Linked DNA regions of Homo sapiens: region 1 is linked to region 2. Evidence: promoter capture Hi-C in 16 types of primary human blood cells and fetal thymus (Javierre and others, 2016). All regions are on one chromosome and are shown on one strand. Each heading gives the region's core, a stretch centred on a gene start or on the middle of the fragment in contact. The rest is flanking DNA. Distances are from core to core; before and after follow the strand shown.

Region 1 (6,250 bases), core at 1,233-3,732, 330 kb before region 2:
CAAGACCAGCCTGGGCAACATAGTAAAACCCCATCTCTACAAAAAAAAAATACAAGAATTAGCCAGGCATGGTGGCACATATCTGTAACCACAGCTACTCAGGAGACTGAGGTGGAAGGATCACTTGAGCCCAGGAGGTCGAGGCTGCAGTGAGGCCAAGACCATGCCACTTCGCTTGAGCCTGGGCAACAGAGTGAGACCCTGTCTCAAAAAAAAAAATAATAATAATAATATAAATTTCAGATGATTAGAGTAAAACCTACACCAGTTTTTGTTTGTTTGTTTGTTTGTTTGTTTAAGACGGAGTCTCACTCTGTCACCCAGGCTGGAGTGCAGTGGCGTGATCTCGGCTCACTGCAACCTCTCACTCCTGGGTTCAAGTGATTCTCCTGCCTCAGCCTCCCAAGTAGCTGGGATTACAGACATGTACCACCACACCCTGCTAATTTTTGTATTTTTAGTAGAGAGGGGGTTTCACCATGTTGGCCAGGCTGGTGTTGAACTCCCTACCTCAAGCGATCTGCCAGCCTCGGCCTCCCAAAGTGCTGGGGTTACAGGCGTGAGCCAACGCACCCAGCTTAGTATTTTTTTAAATGGGAAAAATAACATGGTTATCTCATGTTTGAAGGGGTCGTAAATGTCTGACTATTGAAGAAATGAAAAAAATTTATTAAGGACAAGGTAGAGAAATATAAACATATATTATTATTATTATTATTGTTATTTAGACAGGGTCTCACTTTGTCCCTCAGGCTGGAGTGTAGTGGCACAATCTTCGTTCACTGCAGGCTTGACCTCCTGGGTTCAAGCGATCCTCCTGCCTCAGCCCCAGAAGTAGCTGGGACTAAAGGTACATACCACCACGCCCAGCTAACTTTCATATTTTTTTGAAGAGATGGGGTTTCACCATGTTGGCCAGCCTGGTCTCGAACTACTGACCTCAAATGATCTGCCCGCCTCACCCTCCCAAACTGCTGGGATTACAGGCGTGAGCCACCACACCTGGCCAAATATATAAAGATTACTCTGAACTTTACAGCAGCTACATACAAGACTATGCTATAGAAATAAAAGATGTGACAAATATTAAAAGCTTATCCCCAAGTAGAAAACAATAGATGGAGAAAATACTGGCTTGTGTCTGGATTCTACTCTGTAAATTGTCAAAGGAGAGGAACAGTTTATTCCCCCCAAAAAGGAAGAACAATTATCACATAAAAAAATACAGCCTTGAAAGTAATAAAGAGAAGCCCATTTAAACAACTTTAACATATCATTCTAGAACTATTAGACTAGCAAAAAGCTAGTAAAAGTAATAAATCCCATGTTAACAGAACTGTGGGGAAACAGGTACTTATATGTTGCTGGTGATAATGTGAACTTGTGCAATCTCTTAAACAATAAAAGGATATGCATCAAAGGCAGTAAAAATGCTCATATCTTTTGGAGTATTTATTCTGTTTTTGGAAGCTTATCTACAAGGAAGTAAATAAACCAAAAATTAAGCAAACAAAAAAAAATCAATCTGTTTCATACTGTGTAAAAAAGTGAAACTTGAAAATGACTCAGGTGCCAAATAATAGAGGAAATTCTAAGCAACTTTTCTTATAATAACACACTGGACAATTAAGAATGAAAATCTGGGGACTTTTTTTAACATGAAAGAATGTGAATGTCAACACAGCAGTGCTACCACCTGAGATGTTGAAGTGTGATTTTTCTGTAATAAAGCCAAGAGAGGTCACCCCTGAGATCAGAATTCTAATCTTTGGAACAATGCGCTGCCCAGAACTTACTGTACTAGGTGAAGAATCCTCTTACACAGGGTTATGCCAACCTGCCAGATTGAAAAGTCTAAGAAACTCCCTGGTGAGGCTTGAGGCTTGAAGTAACGATTTCATTTCACTTCATGGACGCTATTAACTCGGCCTCATGGACACACTTGTCCTGCAGTAAGATGAAGAGAGGAGGGTGCCCAGGCAGGCAGGACTGAAAGGTTCAGTTTCATTAGGAACTGGGTGCCCAAAGGAGGAAGCTGTAAGCCACGCTCCTGGAAAGTAGAGAACTTCGCAGGGAGCATGGGACCAGGGAGGAAGTGCCTTCTAAGGCTGCAGGAGTGGCAGGCCTTGGGACGGGAAAATTCCAGAGTAAAGATCCATTGTGAGGGAATTTCGCCTGTGTGAACCCAGAGCCTTCTGTAAATGCCACGGGATGCCTGAAAGTTCTAAACAGGAAACATGGCAAGACGGAGAGGAGCTACAATTTATTTGTCCAACTCATAATGCAGGTAAACAGGAAGATGAGATGTTTTGCCTACCTGCATGCCATGCCAGACTGCCTGGGTTTGAATTCTTTTTTTTTTTTTTTTTTTTTTTTTTTTTTAGATGTAGTCTCACTCTGTCACCCAGGCTCAAGTGCAGTGGCATGATCTTGGCTCACTGCAACCTCCATCTCCTGGATTCAAGCAATTCCCCCTGCCTCAGCTTCCCGCGTAGCTGGGATTACGGGTGTGCACCACCATGCCCACCTAATTTTTGGATTTTTAGTAGAGAAGGGGTTTCACTACGTTGGCCAGACTGGTCTGGAACTCCTGACCTCAGGTGATCCACCCGCCTTGGCCTCCCAAAGTGCTGGGATTACAGGTGTGAGCCACCACACCCAGCCCTGGCTTTGAATTTTGACTCTACCATTTATTAGCTGTGTGACCTTGGGCAAGTCACTTACACGCCTGTGGCTCAGTTTAACAACAGCACCTTCCTCTTAGGGATGCAGTGAGGTTTAGGTGCAACAAAACAGGGAAAGCTCCCACATTGGGATTCTCATTAACTGCAAGCTCCTATCATTATTTTGTACTAAGGTTATCTTGCCATGCAGCAAAGTGCCTGGGAGCACAGCTCAGAGAATAAGAAAGTTTGGATCAGATAGAAGCATCAGGAATTTATAACCAAGAGCTACCCAAAACAGTGAGGATCTGGGAGGAGGAAGAAAGAAAGCCTTCAAGTTATTTACACTGGAGATGCTAGGCTGGCGTGGGAAGGTTGGATGCCCTAAGCCTTCAGGTCTCAGTTGGGCTACCAGGCAGGTTTCTCCCCTCACCAGAGGCCGTCTCACAGTCAGCCTTGGGACCCTGGCTAGAGGCAGTTCTCCTTGAATTGCTTCGAGTGAGGCAGGACTGGTCCCAAATGGAGTCATGGGGTCATTGGGCACTAGACCACGGGTGCCTTGAAGACCTCACTGTGTGAGAGACAGATTGAGAAACACATCCAAGAATTTAGGAAGTAGATAGTGCTTTTTTTTTTTTCTTCCTGCTGATTGCCTGCCCATTGGTTGAGAGTGGGTAGTGTCAAAATTAAATCCTGATGCTTGTGCATTTTCCCTGGGAAAAGTTACAGATTTCGCTGGCTGAGGCAGTGGATGGGCGGGCAAGTGCAGGGACTAAGTGAAGGGGTCTGGAGGAGGGAAGAAATGTCTTCAGGGCATTTTTCGGAAGCTTTGCTGTGCAATGTGTTGTATAATCTTCTCCTCTATGTCCCAAGATAATTGTGCTAAAGACTGACATTTATTTTAAGGCTTTAAAAAAAAAGTTAGCTTTAGATTTCTTTGGAATGTTGTGCTGTGATGCTCCCTAAGGCACAAGCAATAGAAGTCTGTAAGTATGGGATTGTTCATTCACACAATCATTATTTATTAAGCACCTACTGTATCTGAGGAGCCATGTTAGGAGACGAGAATAGAGAGGTAGATAAGGTACAGTCTTAGTCTTCAAGTTGCTCACAGTGTACTGGAGATACAGATAAATATACAAATAATAGGTAAATTGTTGGTGTAATAATAATTGCGGTAGGCTGAATAATGTCTCCCAAACAGATCCAGGTCCTCGTGTCTGGAAACTAGGAATGCCATCTTACCCAGGTGGGCCCTAAAGGTGATCAGAAGAGTCCTTATAAGAGGAAGGCAGGGGGAGATCTCCCCACAGAAGAGAAGGCAATGTGATGGCAGAAGCTGCAATTGGTGTGATGAGCGTTGAAGACGGAGGAAGGGAGCGCACACCAAGGAATGCAGGAGGCCTCTAGAAGCTGAAAAAGTCAAAGAAACAGATTCCCCCTCAGAGTGTCTGGAAGGAACCAGCCCGACCCACACCTCGACTCTGGCCCACTGAGACCAATTTCAGACTTCTGAACTCCAGATATTTAAGATAATAAATTGAATCAATTTGTGGGGGTTTTTTGTTTGTTTTTGAGACAGGGTCTCACTTTGTTGCCCAGGCTGGAGTGCAATGGTGCCATATTGGATCATGGCAACCTCTGCCTCCCTGGTTCAAGCAATTCTTCTGCCTCAGCCTCCTGAGTAGCTGGGATTACAGGTCTGAGCCATCACGCCCGGCTAATTTTTGTATTTTTAGTAGAGACCAGGTTTTACCATGTTGGCCAGGCTGGCCTAGAACTGCTGACCTCAAGTGATTCACCCACCTTGACCTCCCAAAGTGCTGGGACTACAGGTGTGAGCCACCACACCCGGCCAAATTTGTGTTGTTTTAAGTGACTAAGTTTGCAGCAATTAGTTATATCGGCAATAGGAAACTAATACATTAGTGTTTAGTGAAAGAAGAGGCACAGAATGGAATGGACATCCTGACAATTGCCCTGCAGATATGCAGCTCATCCAGGTGTCAGAAGGGAATACAGAGAAGTGGTGCTATTGACTCTTGCCATAAAGGAATCTGGGAAGGACGTAAAGAACATCTTTACCTAGCACTGTGAGGTGTGGAGAGGTGAAGGGATTGGCCAGGGTCATACATATTCATTTACTGAGCATCTGCTCTGAACCAGCTCCTGTGTTGGTTTTGATGGGATATGAAAATAATTAAGGCAGGGTTCTTGCCCTCAAGGAACTTCCAGTCCAGCAGGGGAGAGCTAGCATAAAAGCTCTGGGTTATCATGACTTTGGACCAGTTATTTAACCTCTTTGGGTTTAGGTCCTTCTATGTAAACGATAGAAAGAGCTGCTTCACCAGATGTGAGGACCAAGTGATAAAATATATGCCAACTTGCTTTGTAATCTGTAAAGCATTATAGAAATAAAAGGTGTTATTGTAATTAGGTATAAGAAAAACAAGACACTCACTTAAGTAGCTTGAAGGCATATGAGGAAGACATAAAAAAACCACAAGACACTCACTTAAGTAGCTTGAAGGCATATGAGAAAGACATAAAAGACATACTGGAGATTCAGATGGAGTGACCGAAGAGATGAACTCAGCTAGCAGGATCAACACAGCTTTCTAGAGGAAGGACATTTTAGCAGGTTGTGGTGGGACAGGAAGTAGATGTGAGAAGGGGAAGGGGAGCGAGAGCCCAAGGAAGGGCAAGGAGGAAGAACATTTACTAGATGTGAATGTGAATGTGAGTGGCTGGAGATGAGGTTAAACGGTTAAATGATAGATTGGGCCCTGATTGTGAAGGGATAACCTGCGTCCTTTGTAGGTGACTTGAACCTCTAGATGATGAGGAATTTCAGTGGTGGGGAAGTTGGCACCTTCATAGGGCTAAATCTTAACTTTTCCATAAGCCCTTCTTAATCTTGCTTCCACCACCTCATCCCAGCTCCTCATTAAGGTGTCCAGAGCAGAACCCAGGTTGTGTGGCTCCAATCGCTGCTCCTTTCTCCATCAGTTCTATTTCAACACAAGGCAGAGTTAGGAGCTGAAACTTGTTCGTGTTTTTTTTCCCTTTAAAAAATACTGTTGGAGTTTTTTTGTTTTGTTTTTGTTTTTTGTTTTAGAAAATTACTCATTGTTGGCCAGCGCGGCGGCTCATGCCTGCAATCCCAGCACTTTGGGAGGCCGAGGCGGATGGATCACCTGAGTTCAGGAGTCTGAGACCAGCCTGGCCAACAAGGTGAAACCCTGTCTCTACTAAAAATACAAAAATTAGCCAGGTGTGGTGGTGGGTGCCTGTAATCCCTGCTACTCTGGAGGCTGAGGCAGGAGAATCGCTTGAACCAGGGAGGTGAAGGTCGCAGTAAGCTGAGACTGCGCCATTGCACTCCAGCATGGGCAACAAGAGCGAAACTCCGTCTCAAAAAAAAAAAAAAAGGAAAACAAAAAGAAAATTGCTAATTGTTAAATCATGCAAAGGATGAAGACAATAGTTTCTGGGACAGATGAGCATTCACTGTGAGCCAAAAAGCCAAATGCTGTTTAAAGTACATTCTACTTGGACCTCTGCTGATATTCTCATATCGAATAACA
Region 2 (5,683 bases), core at 2,821-5,320:
TAAGAGGGGAGAAAAAGGAGGGGAACAGCGCTCTTCATCACACCCACAGCCCCAGGTTGGCCTCTTCTGGCAGTGGCCTTGTTGCTCACCACTGTCCTCTGGGCCCTGATTATGGCATCCCTCAGGAGAGACAGGGCCTTTGCTGGGGTAGGAGCTGGCTGGCAGCTGGGGAAATGGCCCAGTCTAGGTAGGGGCCAGTCACTGAGGCTTCCCCGCTGCCCAGCTGCTCAGGGGGCTGGTTCGCAGGCCCCTAGACCTGCAACCCCTGATCCAAGCCTATCATCAGGGACAGGACAAACTGTCCAGAATAAGTTTGGGAGAAAGGGGGCTAGAATTTGGAGAACATGGATCTGATTCTGTTCCTGCTTCCGGGCATGTCTCTACCTACCTCTGGGAGGCTTTGGGTCCTCATCTACAAGTGGGGCGATAAGTGGTCCCTTCCCTGCCTAGCCACAACTGCCATAAGGCTCACAGAGATAATGGCTCTGCAAGTGTTCTGCAAAACACCAGGCTCTGTGTTGAGGCAAGGCCTGCAATTATGAACTCCTGGGACCCTCAAAATACATTCTACCTGTAGCCCCGCCCACTGAGGACAGTGGGAGGTTCCCTGGGCCCAGTGCAGGGCAAAGGCAATAGGCCAGTAAAGGGCAGTGAAGTGAACTTGGCAGGAGTGGAGATGGGGTGACTCTATCTCTTACTTGGAAAAGGACAAAGTGGGAAGAGGAAGAAAAGAGGGGAAGCTGTCTCACCCCCAGAGTGTAAGATCTTTTCTTGCCCGAGAACCCTGATTTTACACACCTCCTCCCTACATATGGCCCCAGACCACTTCTGACTCCTTCTAGGGGAGGCCGACCACAGACCTCCATGGCTGGTTCATATTGGGTCAGCAGGAGTTGAGTCAAAGGCTCAAATCTCAACCCCCTCTCCTAGCAGGGGGGTCTCAGGCTCCACAGCAATCCTGGGGTGAGCAGGACAGATTCCAACAGCCAGTGCCATCCCCCCAGCCTGCCAGACCACTCTCCAGGGCTGCCGCAGGCTCACTGAAGGTGGCACACGGGCAGTAACCGCTACGTTCTCAGAGGCCAGGCCTAGAAGACTCAGCTGCCTACTGGTCCTTTCTCTAGGGGTCAGCACCACACACATACACCCACACTTACGGAGAAGTCAAGCAAAAGCCAGAGTGGGCTGCTCCAGAGCCACTCCCACCAACTCTGAGATTCTGAGCACCCCATCTCCCCTCTCGACCAGGAGCCCCTCACACACTGCCACGACTGCCTCAGTAGGCACAGGGGTGTCCACGGCTTTGACCCCACAAGTATCAGATGCTCTTACCATCTGACCACCGAAGGGTCTCCAGCTCTGGGCTAGATCCGTATCAGTTGCCCTATTGCTGAACCAAACAGGGCCAGGAAGGGCCCCACCCAGGGGACACCCTTTCTGGATGGCACAGACCTGGGCACAGAGAACACCCTCAGGACAGTAGAGACCTTGCACCAGTCATCTTCAATGAAACAAAAAAATATAGGAGGTTGATACTTGGGCTATAGCTACAGACAGCTGCAAGGGTGGGGGCAGTCGGCATGATCTGGTCATCAAAGTCAGGGTGGGTCTTTCCTTAGCCACAAGGCCTGGGAGCAGACAGCAGGCAGATATCCCTCTGCAAGCACAGAGCCAGGCAGCCAAGCCCTCACTGAGACAGGCACTGCCGCACCTCACTGCCTGCTCCAAATGATGCAGAGATGCTTACTAGAGTGAGAGACGAACCAAAGGGTGCAGAAGCACACACAGTGCGGGCAGCAGCCCCAGCCTGAACCCTGCACGGACCTGACCAAGGACACCCCATACTCCTAAGGAGGCTCACAATATAGACCAGGAATGAGCAAATAGCAAACGATAGATACAGTCAAGCCCCCAGTTGTGGGATGCCAGCCAGCAATGGTTGTGCCCAGATGTCAGACCCCCAGTGAGGGGGATCTAGATGTGGGGTCCTAAAAAGTGGAACTAGCCACAGAACAGCCTAAGCCTGCCTGGTAAAGGCACAGGCGCCAGTCAGAGTGGCCAGTCCACAAAACAGTCAGTCCCACACACCCCCGCTCCATTCACACATGCTTCACACGCAGTCTTAGCACATGCACACGCTGACACGTGTGCATACACACCTCTTGCTGCACCCACACCATGCCCACTCCTTGTGACAGAGGACAGCATCCCTGGCACAGATATCTCAGATCCACCCCCCGCCCCCCACCACCCCTCACCCCACCTTCCAAGCCGGCTGTCCCTGGGACTGAGGTTGAGGGGCACCACCACAGAGAGGATGCCGGAGGAGGTGGCCCCCTCTGAGGGGACCAGCACCTTGGGCGAGAGGTGGCAAGACAGAGCCCAGCATCTATCCTGAGGCCAGGAAGCACACACTCACCTGGAGCTGCAGTGGAGGCCTGCAGGCTGGCCCGCTTCTTAAAGGGATATTTGGCCTTGGGCTTGCCAGAGCCAGATGGATAGGATGCCATGGCTGGGACCACGGCGGCGACAGCGGGGGAGTCTGAGCGGCACCGGCTGGGGCCTGGCTCTGCCACATCCAACCCCTTCCTCCGCCCCGCCCCCAGCGGGAGTGACTGATGCAGGAAGCAGCGGCTCCGCAGGCGGAAGAGGCCCTGGCCACGATTTCTCATGTTGTCTAGGCAACCTCGGGGAGTGGGGCCTCCATCTCTGCCCCTTATCCCTCCCCTGCCTCCTCAGTCCCAGGAGTGACGTGACTGATGGTGGCTGGGCCTGGCGGGGGGCGGGGAGGGGGTGGGTAGAAAAGAAGATGGGGAAGGGCCAGCCCCCAGCTCTCCACTAACCCACCAAGAGCCCTCACCCCATCATGCCAGGGCTCCCGGGCAAAGAAGCCAAAGTCCAGGCTAGCTGGTCCTTCCAGCTAGCCTGGAAGAAAAAAGAATAACAAACAGGAATTCAGCAGCGAGCGAGTCCAAGCTCAAACACAGTCCTCCCGGGGCAGGGCAGGCATACTCCGTGAAAACCCAGCACCCACTTTCCTTCCACATCTGACCCTCAGCTCCCGGGGTAGCCCAGCTCTGGGAGGAGGGGGAAGAACCGAGAATCCCAGCCCAGGAGGGAGGGGCCTGTCCCGGGAAAATTCCACCGTCGCCAAATAGCTACCTCCCAGGAAGGCAGGAAGGCCAGGAGACCCCCTTGTCTGGGGGTCTGGGACAGAGACCCTAGCCTCTTTGGATTTTTCCTCTGTCTCTGCACACTCTGGCTCTGCTCCCCAGGCCCTCCTGGGAGGAGCTGACCGCCTTCCCTAGGTCCTGCTGCTGTGCTGTGACTCCCACCCTCTTGTCACTCTGGCCACAGCACTTCTCTGTCCCAGAGACCCTCCCTCCAACACACGTACACACACTCACCTGAGGCCATGATGCCCGAGTTCCGAGGGGAGGCTGCCCACGAGAAGTCTGTACAGCAGAAAGCCCGGGTCCTGAGGGACGGCAGGGGGATCGGGCCACAGACCCCAGCCAAGTCACTCCAAGGGCCCCTGCCCTGGCACTGAGATGGGGAAAGTAAGGCAGTCTTTCAAAATTGCCAGCTGGCCGGAGGTGGACTCCCGCAGACCTCGGCAGCCGGACTGGCCTCAAGGCGACCCCGGTGTCGCGACCACCCAACCCTGCAATCGAGAGGCTGGTAGGCCACGTGCTCCCAAGGGAGCGGGACCCGAAACTCGTCCAGATTTCTCTCAACACTCCCTGGGCATTCAGGGTCGGACTCCCGCGGCCGGACTGTGGGGGAGTCACGCAACAGGTGAGACCCCACCAAAATCTCGCCGGCTCCGCGCCAGGCTCTGCGGCCCTTGGCCCCGCCCCCGCCTGGCCCCGCCTCCGCCTGCCGACCCCGCCTCGCCATTTTTTTCTCTTCCTGGGCGCCACGTGGGCAGCCACCACACCGCGGTAGGGCTGGCCTGAGCCGACCCTGGGTCTTGGGCCAGTTCCGTGCGTCAGCTTCCTCATCAGTAAGATGGGGTAATGACAGTACCTCACTCAAAGGGGTTACTGTGAAGATTAAACGTAAAGTCCCTTTACACAGTGCCTGGCACGAAGTGAGGGCCCAGTGAAAGGTAGCTGTTATCATTGTCCCAGGATTCATTTTAAGCAGAAGTCCTGCCCCTGCAATCTCACTTGGTCGTCTGTTTTCTTCCGGCCGGCGTAGGTAGGAGGCTGTGCCCTGCAATTCTGGCTCCCCTTCCCACATTTCTGTATTTGGTGGTTAAGAGCTTTAACTCTAGCCAGAATGTCTGGGTTCAAATCCAGATTTCACCTACTTCCTGACTGATACTGGGCAAGTTACCTAACTTCTCTGTGCTTCTATTTCGTCTGTAAAATGAGTGTAAGAGTACCTGCTTTATATGGTGGTTAAGATAAATGAGTTAATATAAGTTAACTGCTTAGAACTGTGCCTGGCCTGTAGTTAGTACTCAGTATTCATGTATTACCATTGCTTTAGCCTTGGCCTTGGTTCTCTATTGACACTCACAGGTTGATTCACTTGCAGCCGTTCTGGGGTCTATCCAACAAGCATCCCCACTGCCAAGGGGTAGATAATCCGACCTAAAGGGAACTTGTGGAGGGAAGTCCCTAAGACTTCACTGAATATAATTAAATGCATTAGCAGGAATTAATCTCTTCCCTATTTTCCCTCTTGTGGGAGGCCTTTGCCCCCCACACCCAGTTGTTCTAATGCTGTTTGTCTGGCTCCTCCCAGTTCTTACCACTCCCACAGCAGAGATCCTTCCCAAACTCTGCCTCCCTCTTCTCTCCCCACGCTGGATTCTGGACCCTGAACCCTTTTCTCCACCTGCATCTGGTGCCACTTCCATTGATCCCTGGCTACTGTTCCCTGAACAAACTTAAAAAAAACTTGGCCTCTTCACCTCACACAGAATCCATAAAACTAAAAAGAGAACAGAGATAACCAGGTTTACCTAATCAAAATAGCAAAGACTAAAAAACAAAAAACCAAAAAATAAACGCTAATGCAGGTTGGCAAGGGTATAGTTAGTGAGATGGGAGACACACACACACGTACATGTGCACAAACACATTACTGGTGGCCTTGAACACTGATATAATCTTTCTGAAAGCCATCTGGTAATATAGAATCAAAATTTTCAAAAAGGTTCTTATTATTTGACCCAGTAATCAACTTTCTGGAAGTTGTTTTTCTAAAAAGAGCTGCCAGAAAAATATGTATGCAAAAAGTTGTTCAGCACCACAATGTGTATTGCATAGAAAAGTTAGATACTTTAAAGGTCGAACAATAGGGGAATGTTTATGTAATATTCATACCATGAAATACAGCCATTAAAAATTGTTCTTGGAGAAATGTTTAATGATGTGGAAATGTTTACAATATAAAGTTAGGTAAAAGAATGGATGCAAAACACTATACACAGTATGGTCCTACTTATGTGATATACATGGGTAGAAAAGAAACACACCAACAAGTTTACCAATGATTATCTGTAGTGATGGAATTATGGGTTATATTTATTTTCTTTATATTTATTTGCATTTTAGAAATTATAATACATACCCATAACTTTTATAATCAAGGGGATAGAAATCAACAAAAATCTGTAAAAATCTGTAATTGCCTCCACAGTCCCCCCAACCCAGCCTTCCCGGGGTCT

Evidence for each region. The method cuts DNA at HindIII sites, captures the fragments that hold promoters and counts their contacts. A CHiCAGO score of 5 or more calls a contact.
Region 1: a fragment that was not itself captured here is called in contact with the fragment with the promoter of GNAT2 in region 2 in 1 of 17 cell types (total CD4 T cells); the score reaches 5.1 in total CD4 T cells.

What each region holds. Positions count from the first base shown.
Region 1 is chr1:109,943,683-109,949,932 of GRCh38, reverse strand. No RefSeq gene overlaps it. Among named protein-coding and RNA genes, the nearest start is that of CSF1, 36 kb to the right of the region's middle. The HindIII fragment of the contact is 2,020 bases long and covers 1,473-3,492 here.
Region 2 is chr1:109,618,003-109,623,685 of GRCh38, reverse strand. GNAT2 (G protein subunit alpha transducin 2) reads left to right here and starts at 4,070. Exons shown (of 9, transcript NM_001377295.2): 1 at 4,070-4,203. It overlaps AMPD2 (adenosine monophosphate deaminase 2), which reads right to left and starts at 3,849. Exons shown (of 19, transcript NM_001368809.2): 1 at 3,408-3,849; 2 at 2,420-2,772. The coding sequence starts at 2,510. RefSeq lists enhancers at 2,564-3,092, 3,052-3,101, 3,623-4,151, 4,122-4,171, 4,152-4,682 and 2 more and a silencer at 3,742-3,931. The HindIII fragment of the contact is 17,616 bases long and covers 1-5,683 here.